2 separate regions of the Homo sapiens genome follow, and region 1 is linked to region 2. Evidence: promoter capture Hi-C in human tissues and cell types (Jung and others, 2019). All regions are on one chromosome and are shown on one strand. The core of a region is centred on a gene start or on the middle of the fragment in contact, and the rest is flanking DNA. Distances in the headings are between cores, read along the strand shown. Region 1 overlaps RBBP6 (RB binding protein 6, ubiquitin ligase). Region 2 holds the start of EARS2 (glutamyl-tRNA synthetase 2, mitochondrial).

Region 1 (4,383 bases), core at 891-3,390, 1.0 Mb after region 2:
CCATTAGTATCTTACCAAGAGTCACTATTTTTATTGATGTTTAGTAATACAAATTCCTAATCATTTTTAAACCATTCTTTGTCAACATTTTTTGCTCATTTCTGAACACCTTGCTATATGTAGGAAACATTTGTTTGCTTTTCTAAATTTGAGGTAAATTTGACTTCTTTGTGGACTATAAGATATTTAGGGGCAATAGTGATTACTTGGTGGTAAAAAGGTGATTTAGGTGCAGTTGCATATCTAAAACCACTTCAAAGTCAATAAATACATAATACTAATAAGTTAGCAGAAAGCTTAAAAGCACACAAAAGCCCAGCATAAAAACAAAAAGGATACTATATCTTAAGTGTTAGGAGTGGGAAGATTTTTTTTTTATTCTTAAGTTTTTTAGTTCCAGTGGTAAGAAAGTTAATATAATTGTTTTCTTTCCAAGGAAATCATCAGTATTTATATTCTATTCTAGATAGTAATGGGCTATTTTTAAAGACTATTTGTTTTATTGGTTAGAATGTAGTATAGATGATGGTTGACAGCAATTTGTCTAGTCCTTGTTACTTAAAATCAAGTAACTTCTGGTTGGTATAAAATCTTTAAAATAGATTGAGTAGGTCAGAACTTATTTTAGATAAAAAGAGATATGTATTATTTAGAGGTTTTTTTCTACTTACCACTTGAGATTAGTTCTTAAAGGAAAAAAATACTTAAAAGCTGGACAAAAATGATAACCCATTGGCAAATTATGTAGATATGCATTAAGTTATAGGGTTAGTGCATCATGAACTCTTTTATAGTCAGTTCCTTAATGTGGAGCAAAGAACCTTTTGTCTGAATAAACATCCCAGTAATATCCATCAAATTAACTTTTAAAACCCTAAGATATTTGTGAGATGTGTCTTATATTTAGCCAACATTATTTTTTATTTACATTTATTGAATCCCTACTGTGTGGGCATTGGCTAAGAACTTCATATTGAGACTGGTTACATTTGTCTTTGGGGCTCTTAAGTCATGTTGCTTTTATTTTAAAACTTTTGGTTCTCTGGAACAGAATACCTGATGAAGACTTTTTTCTTTGATCCAGACATCTTGTTACATTCTCCATTTTAAATGAAGAGTTCTGACCTTACGACATGTTAACTAAGCAACCCACTTACTACGTAGGAAGCTGTAGGGAAATCATATCTTCAAGATTGTTTGCTAAAGATTTTTTTAAAAACTGATATTAAAATCATTTCAGAGGATCAAATGAAAAAAATTAGTGTTCAATTTAAAATACATTTTTATTTTTATTTTATTTTGAAAGAGAAATGTTTTATTCCTCTTTGCACAGAACAGTTTATGAAGGTGGCTCTCTCCTGACTCCATACATCTTTTACACAAAGATGCCTCTTCAAATATGCCCAGTTATCTCCCCCTCTTCAGTGTTAGAGAATTGGCAGTTAGTGAGTGGGGCAGAATGCTTAAGGCTCATTAAAATACCTTTTTTAAAGCCCTCTTATATCCTTTATGTACACTTGCTCTGTGTGATTAAATTAACTTTCTTCAAATATTAGAGTCCATCATAATAAGTGACAGCTCTGTTGGCCTTCTCCTCAGGGTGCCATTGTTTTCCCTTTTTTTGACTTAACATCTTTGCCCTGAGAAAGCTGTGGTTTCTTTGACAAGAAGCTATTACTCTTTGTATGAGAGAATAAACAAACTTACTCAGACTGAAGAGTATGTTTTCAAAAATTAAAGAAGTAGCAATTATATGGGAGCTGTTATTTATTAAAGCAATTATCTGAGCCCTTAAAGGGCTGTTTGTTTTTACAATGTTGTATAATGGCCTTGCAGGAAAATTAGATTTCTTATTCTCTCTTCCAGTGTACATTGTCTTGAGTATTGTCACATTTAGAGACCATAGGGAGATATGGGACTCCTAGTATTCAGTCGACACTCTGAACAGATTTTCTGTGTGATACATTTTTTCATTTTAATTGAGTCCCCTCTTCCTCCCCTCCAACTGATAGCTTTTTATAACTGTGTGAAATATCTAGAGAAGAATGAAGTAGGCTGAGCTACATTTTCAAGCTTAACATTCTTTAGAAAACTAAGAAAATGCCCAATATTTCAACATTAAGGTGTCAATAGGGGCTAAATGATCACTTTAAGATGTTTTCAGTTTGGAACTTGAATGTGTGTTTAATTTTTTGTGAACAGATTGATGACTCTTCCGCGTCTATTTCTCTGGCCCAGCTTACAAAGGTATATATATATATATATTCTTGAAAATATAAGTTTTTTTCTAACATCATATTTTTTTATGTGGAACGGTTTTTTAAGAGGGGTTGGGGGAGGACATATTTTGCAAAAGCATTGTACATATTATTACTATCCTGTAAAGAGTAGTTGCTGTTTTGAGAAGATAGGGGAATACTTTGTCAGCCTCAGCGTATTGGAGTATTGTTCATCTTCAAGACAGAAGAAACACTTGAAGCTACACTTAATTATTTTTTTTCCCTCATACATTTTGTTTAATTATACATTGGAAACTAACAAGGTTCTGGAGGAATTTCCTGGTTTTGGCTATAAATTATGTGGACCTTTTTTAAGCAGCCAAAACAGAAGATTTCCTTTACACGGACGATTGCATGGTTATTTCTTGAATATTTGACTTGATCCCATGAAGGTCAATATTTTAAATGTGATGCAGTTGTTTCTTTATGCTATAGACTTGTAGTCTGTCTGCATTAGGAAAAGTTTTGAACAACCTAATTTGTTTGAACACAGACTACATGAATTGTGTAAGTGTGTAAAGCTGTTTGCAGGAATATACCAATGTGTATGTTTGGCAGAGGGGCAAATTGTTACCTCCTGAATCACTGTATATGCCATGTTTTGCGATAAGATTGCTTGCATTTTCTGCTCAACAATGTGTATCTTCTGTTTGGGAAAGCACTAGTGATGGATTACTTTTTAAAGCAATACATTTAGCTTGCAAATTGTGCCTTTAAAAAAAAAAATAGGCAGACTTTTGAGGGCCAAGAAGGAAGCTGTCCAGTTTTCCAAAAATCCTTTTTCCCTGCTATCAGAAATGTGAAACCAAATTTAGCAACCAAGATTAATGAAAAGATGGGTTTTCCATTAGTGCTGTCCCTATCTTGTTCTTGGCTTTGTTATGTCCTTTCCCCTAGACTGTATCCCGACAAAATGTCCTAGTAACAAATTGCTTTTTAAGCTCCTGTTCTGGGAAAACTAAGCATTAAAATTGATTATTCTAAAACATAAAGTGGACTAAAGCCATCCTATTTTATAATTTTCTAATGCAAAGTGGTTTAGTATAGAGTTAACACTTAGAAGTTTATAGTTTACTGTTTTTATTCTTATGTACTGTAAGGACCATATTTGAGTTTTTGGTCTATTCCTACCATTGTTTCTTTGTGGGGAGGAGTTGGGGCGGTTTGGGGGATTGGTTTTTTTTTTTTGTTTTTTTAAACTACAGGTATTTGTAAAACAATGTTTGGGTTCAAACAAATTAGTTGTTAAACATCTGTAATCCAGTTTTCTGTAAATGTTGCTGTTGTTCTAAGCTCTGTTAATGTTAAGCATTCTTTGTATATAAAATTACAATAAAATGTTAAAACTGGTTGCTTGTTTTGTGGATGAATGTAAAGACAAACCCCAATGAATGGCTGATATGAGTGCTAAATGCCTGAAGATTCAACTTAACTAGAAATCACTCCCTTAGACCCTGCTTACATCTAGACCTTGTATATCATACCTCAAAGATGAAATTCATAAAACTTATCTGAAGAGTTTAATTTAAAATTATAATGCTCAATGCACATCTTTTGCACTTGAGTTGAAACTAACATCACTACCTAAAGAGCCTTCTACTTCTAATATCTGCTGCATAATACGTTCAGTCATTCTACCCCCATCCCTACCTCCACATTGTAAGTATAAATTAGTCTTAATGCTCTGACACTTGAATTATTTTTAAAACATCAAGTGTTTCTATTCTAACTTAATATCAGTCTTTAACTTGTAGAAAAGTAGTATGCAAGTCTTAATGTAAGGTACAAACAGGGTCTAAGGTTTGAGTGCCCCCAGAATGACTTTCTTCAGCCTTGCAGACACCTAAACATCATGTAATTACCTAAGGAATTCCCAAGTGCCTCTTCCAGGTTATACGTGTAAATAGCTGTTTTTATGCAAGATTAGTTAGATACTGCTCTTTACAGGATGAGTGGTGTTGTCTTTGGCTGTGTGGTCTTAAATGTGTTTCTAATGTGTGTGTCAAATAATTACCTGTTAAACAGACTGCCAATCTGGCTGAAGCCAATGCTTCTGAAGAAGATAAAATTAAAGCAATGATGTCGCAATCTGGCCATGAATACG
Region 2 (4,159 bases), core at 1,473-3,972:
GATAGTTACTGCAAGGACACCAGAAAACCAGTGGTATTCAGTGGCACTGAGTCCCACGAGTCCCCAAGACAAAAGAGGAACCCAGCTGCTGAAAACAAAGCCTCTTACATCAAGTACACCTGGATTCAAATTCTGCATCCACCATTTATTAGTTGCTACCCCTTGAGAAGGAACTCTACTTAACTTTTATGAGCTTCTATTTCCTCATCTGTCAGAGGGATTAAGAGCAAAAAAATAAGAACCTTCTTTATTATAGGGTTGCTCTGAGGTCTAAATGCTGACCAAAGTAAACCCTCAATTAATTTCAGCTACTGTAATGATCTGTGCCTGATAATTCTTTTATCTGTTTATAGTCAAAAGCCTTTCCCACATGGGCTTTCCCCGCAAATGAGCAAGGAAATGAGAAGTACAATCATCATAATAGAGGCTGTGTATTAAGTGCTTTCTGGGTGTACTAGACCTTACTAAGTGGTTCGGCTGCATGAGCTTAACCCCATAAGACAGATATTATTATTAGCCCCGTTTTGACAAATGGTGAAACTGAGGCTCAGATTCATTAAATAATTTGCACATCTAGGCCAGGTGTGATGGCTCACACCTATAATCCCAGCACTTTCGGAGGCCAAGGCAGGTGGATCACTTGAGCTCAGGAGTTCAAGATCCGCCCAGGCAACATGGCAAAACCCCATCTCTACAAGAAAATACAAAAATTAGCTGGGCGTAGTGGTCACACACTTGTAGTCCCAGCTACTCGGGAGGTTGAGGTGGGAGGATCACTTGAGCCCCGGAGGCTGAGGTTGCAGTGAGCCGAGATTGCACCACTGCACTCCAGCCTGGACGACAGACAGAGCCAAACCCTGTCTCAAAATAACAATAATAATTTGCACATCTAGTAAGTTACACATCTAATAAGTGGCCACGACAGAAATTTGGACCCAGGCAATCCCAGGCTTTGGCATTCTACATAAGTGCTCTTCAAAGCAAAGTGTGCAATCCAGTGCTGGTCTGAAAACAGTTGTCAGTTCACAATCAAGTACAGAAACTGAGAGTAAAGGTTTAGAAACTTTTGTTGTTGTTTTGAGATGGAGTCTCACTCTGTCACCCGGGCTGCAGTGCGGTGGCACGATCTCGGCTCACTGCAACCTCTTTCTCCTGGGTTCAAACGATTTTCAGCCTCCTGAGTAGCTGGGATTACAGGCCTGGGCCACATGCCCGGCTAATTTTTGTATTTTAGTAGAGACAAGGTTTTGCCATATTGGCCAGGCGAAACTTACATAGCAATCTGGCAGAATGATTTTACCTCTGCTAACCCAAATAAAATGAGATTGGTTTGTATTTTGGATGTTTTCAAAATTTTATTTTTCTGGTCATTATATTAATTTTGTGCAAATATTGATACACAATTGATTGGAAATTTAAAACCAGCACTTCCACAACAGATGGTTTGAAAGGCACTGCTCTAGGCTATACTGCCTGCCAGAAAGATCCTGTCATGTATAGCTGGGATTTTACTACAAAGATCTTTGTATGTTCATCCTGGGATTTGGGATGAGAGGCATACTCCGTGTAGAGAACGTAGAAGGTAGCCTTACTGGTGGGAACCAAAAGGCCCTGACGAGATCTCCAACAGGCTATACAATGGGCCTCTGTCACCCTCTAGCTTGCTAAGCTCCCAACAGCACTAGCACAGTGCCTTGGTACCTGCGATTTCCTCTACCCAGAAGGTTCCTTCTTTTTTGTTTTTGAGACACAGTTTCGCTCTTGTTGCCCAGGCTGGAGTGCAATGGCGCGATCTTGGCTCACCGCAATCTCCACCTCCTGCGTTCAAGCGATTCTCCTGCCTCAGCCTCCCAAGTAGCTGGGATTACAGGCATGCGCCACCATGCCCAGATAATTTTGTATTTTTAGTAGAGACAGGGCTTCACCATGTTGGTCAGACGGCTCTCAAGTGATCCACTTGACCTCAAGTGATGCACCCACCTCTGCCTCCCAAAGTGCTGGGATTACAAGCGTGAGCCACCGCGCCTGGCCTCCAGAAGGTTCCTTCTATAGGCTTCACATAGCGTGCTCCTTCTTGTCATTTGGATCTCAGCTCAAATGTTACCTGCTCAGTAAAGCCTTCTGGAGCGTCCTTCTTAATCCCCAGTCTCCTATCCTGTTTCACTTCCCGCATGGCACATGTGACTCTAAAATTACACTTATTTTTTATAAGTGTCTGCGGCAGCCACTAGAATGCAGACTTCCACAGAGCAAGGCCCCTACCTTTCTCAATGATCACTGTATCCCAGCGTCTACAACACCTGTTACACAGGTTGTCATCAATGCACATGTATGGAATGCATGAAAAAAAGATCGAAAGAGATGGGATGGCACAAAAAACACAAGAAACTCCTGGCAATTTGAATTATTTCCGCTCCTGCACCTCAGTTTCCGCCTCTGTAAAATGGGCTCGCGCTGCCTTAACCCTCCTCCGCCCGCCCACTCTGACACCACCGGAAAGGATTCATTCGGGAACATTCGTGGGGCGGAGACGGGACAGGGGGCCTCGGCCTGTAGCGTCACGTCCGCCAGGGTTACCTGTGGGGCTGGGAGCGAACCGCACTCGCACCGCAACCCCGGCATCAGTGCCCAGGTTGGCCTCGCGCCGTCCTACGGGGCGGCCAGAGGCCGCCGAAGGCCTCTCGCGCTGCAGCAGTCTCCTCAGGAGCGCCGCCATGTGGGATGGAATAGCACACGTGGGCTTCTCCCTGCGTCACTTCCGGGGACTGCTTCCAGCCAATCGGCCTCCGCCACAGCCAGCGCAGCCTTGCCCCTTAAAGTCACAGGCCCCCTAGCGCGAAATCCCACGCCCCCCTGGACGGCTGCGGCCGCACTCGCCACCAGGGGGCAGAGGCCAGAGAAAGGGCTATTTCCCGGACCCGCCCCCTTCAGCTTGGGAAAGCGAAAGCGTGGCAGGGGCCGGACCTGGGAGCGGAGGAGGCGGGTCTCCATAGAAACCTCCACCTGTTTCCGGCCGGGCTGTGAGAGATTAGGGGCTGCTGCGGGGGCCAATCTCAGCCAGCTCGCCTCTTCCCAGCGGCCTCTGCGGGAGCGGTGGGTGTTGTACACAATCATCATGGCGGCGGCCGGGGCCCCGGATGGTGAGTGCGGCGGGGGTGGCGGGCGCCGGGCCGGGGCTGAGGTTGCGGTCGCTCCTCTGGGGGATGCGGCCCGGCCCGGGAGGGAGAACCGCGGCTCGGGAACGGAGGTCCGGCGGCGCCCGGACAGCGTCCGTTCCCAAGCCCAGCCCGCGGCGAGCGCCCACCCCCTAACCCCCTTGCAGGCATGGAGGAACCTGGCATGGACACGGAGGCCGAGACTGTGGCTACTGAGGCTCCCGCGCGGCCCGTCAACTGCCTGGAGGCTGAAGCCGCGGCGGGGGCGGCGGCCGAGGACTCCGGCGCCGCACGAGGCAGCCTGCAGCCGGCCCCGGCCCAGCCCCCTGGGGACCCCGCAGCCCAGGCCTCGGTCAGCAACGGCGAAGACGCGGGCGGCGGCGCGGGCAGGGAGCTGGTGGACTTGAAGATCATCTGGAATAAGACCAAGCATGACGTGAAGTTCCCCCTGGACAGCACAGGCTCCGAGCTGAAACAGAAGATCCACTCGATTACAGGTAATTCCTGTGGCGCTGACAGCCAGTCTTCCCCACCCCGCCTCCTGATGGCCCTTGCACCCTACTAGGCACCTGGTGGCTTTCCTTGCATCAGGTCCCCCCATCCTTACAGCAGTCTTCTGAAGGATACTTGGATGCCCATTACTCAGCTGGGGAAAGAGACTCAAGTTTATAGAGCTAGTAAGTTGCAGAGCTGGGATTAAAGCCGAAGTCTGACGTTTAGGCCCCAGTTTCTCATTGATGTTGCTCTAACATCTCTAATTAAAAAATCACCTAAGGCGCTTGTTTTACAGCTTCTGGGCCCTTTCCCAGGAGATTCTGATTCAGTGGGTCTGGGATGTAGCCAGGAATTTATTTTTAGCAAATATCTTAGGTAATTCTTCTAAGTGAAGTTTAGGAAACGCTGCTATTGACTTTGATGCTGGTTCTTCACAGTCGATTCTGTTTCTTAATTTTACCTTGTTCATAGCTCTTTGCCATCTGAGATTTCTTTTCTTTTTCCTATTT

The links. The method cuts DNA at HindIII sites, captures the fragments that hold promoters and counts their contacts. A contact is called where the count stands out against the background at its distance.
Region 1: a contact is called between a fragment that was not itself captured here and the fragment with the promoter of EARS2 in region 2, in 1 of the 25 tissues and cell types used here (dorsolateral prefrontal cortex).

Annotation. Positions count from the first base shown.
Region 1 is chr16:24,551,311-24,555,693 of GRCh38, forward strand. RBBP6 (RB binding protein 6, ubiquitin ligase) reads left to right here. Exons shown (of 18, transcript NM_006910.5): 4 at 2,203-2,247; 5 at 4,305-4,383. Among named protein-coding and RNA genes, the nearest start is that of RBBP6, 14 kb to the left of the region's middle. The HindIII fragment of the contact is 7,515 bases long and covers 1-4,383 here.
Region 2 is chr16:23,554,628-23,558,786 of GRCh38, forward strand. EARS2 (glutamyl-tRNA synthetase 2, mitochondrial) reads right to left here and starts at 2,723. Exons shown (of 9, transcript NM_001083614.2): 1 at 2,578-2,723. The coding sequence starts at 2,716. UBFD1 (ubiquitin family domain containing 1) reads left to right here and starts at 3,100. Exons shown (of 7, transcript NM_019116.3): 1 at 3,100-3,140; 2 at 3,323-3,652. The coding sequence starts at 3,116. RefSeq lists enhancers at 1,408-2,052, 2,413-2,692, 2,697-3,341, 2,883-3,082, 3,342-3,985 and silencers at 3,153-3,242, 3,343-3,522. The HindIII fragment of the contact is 16,025 bases long and covers 1-4,159 here.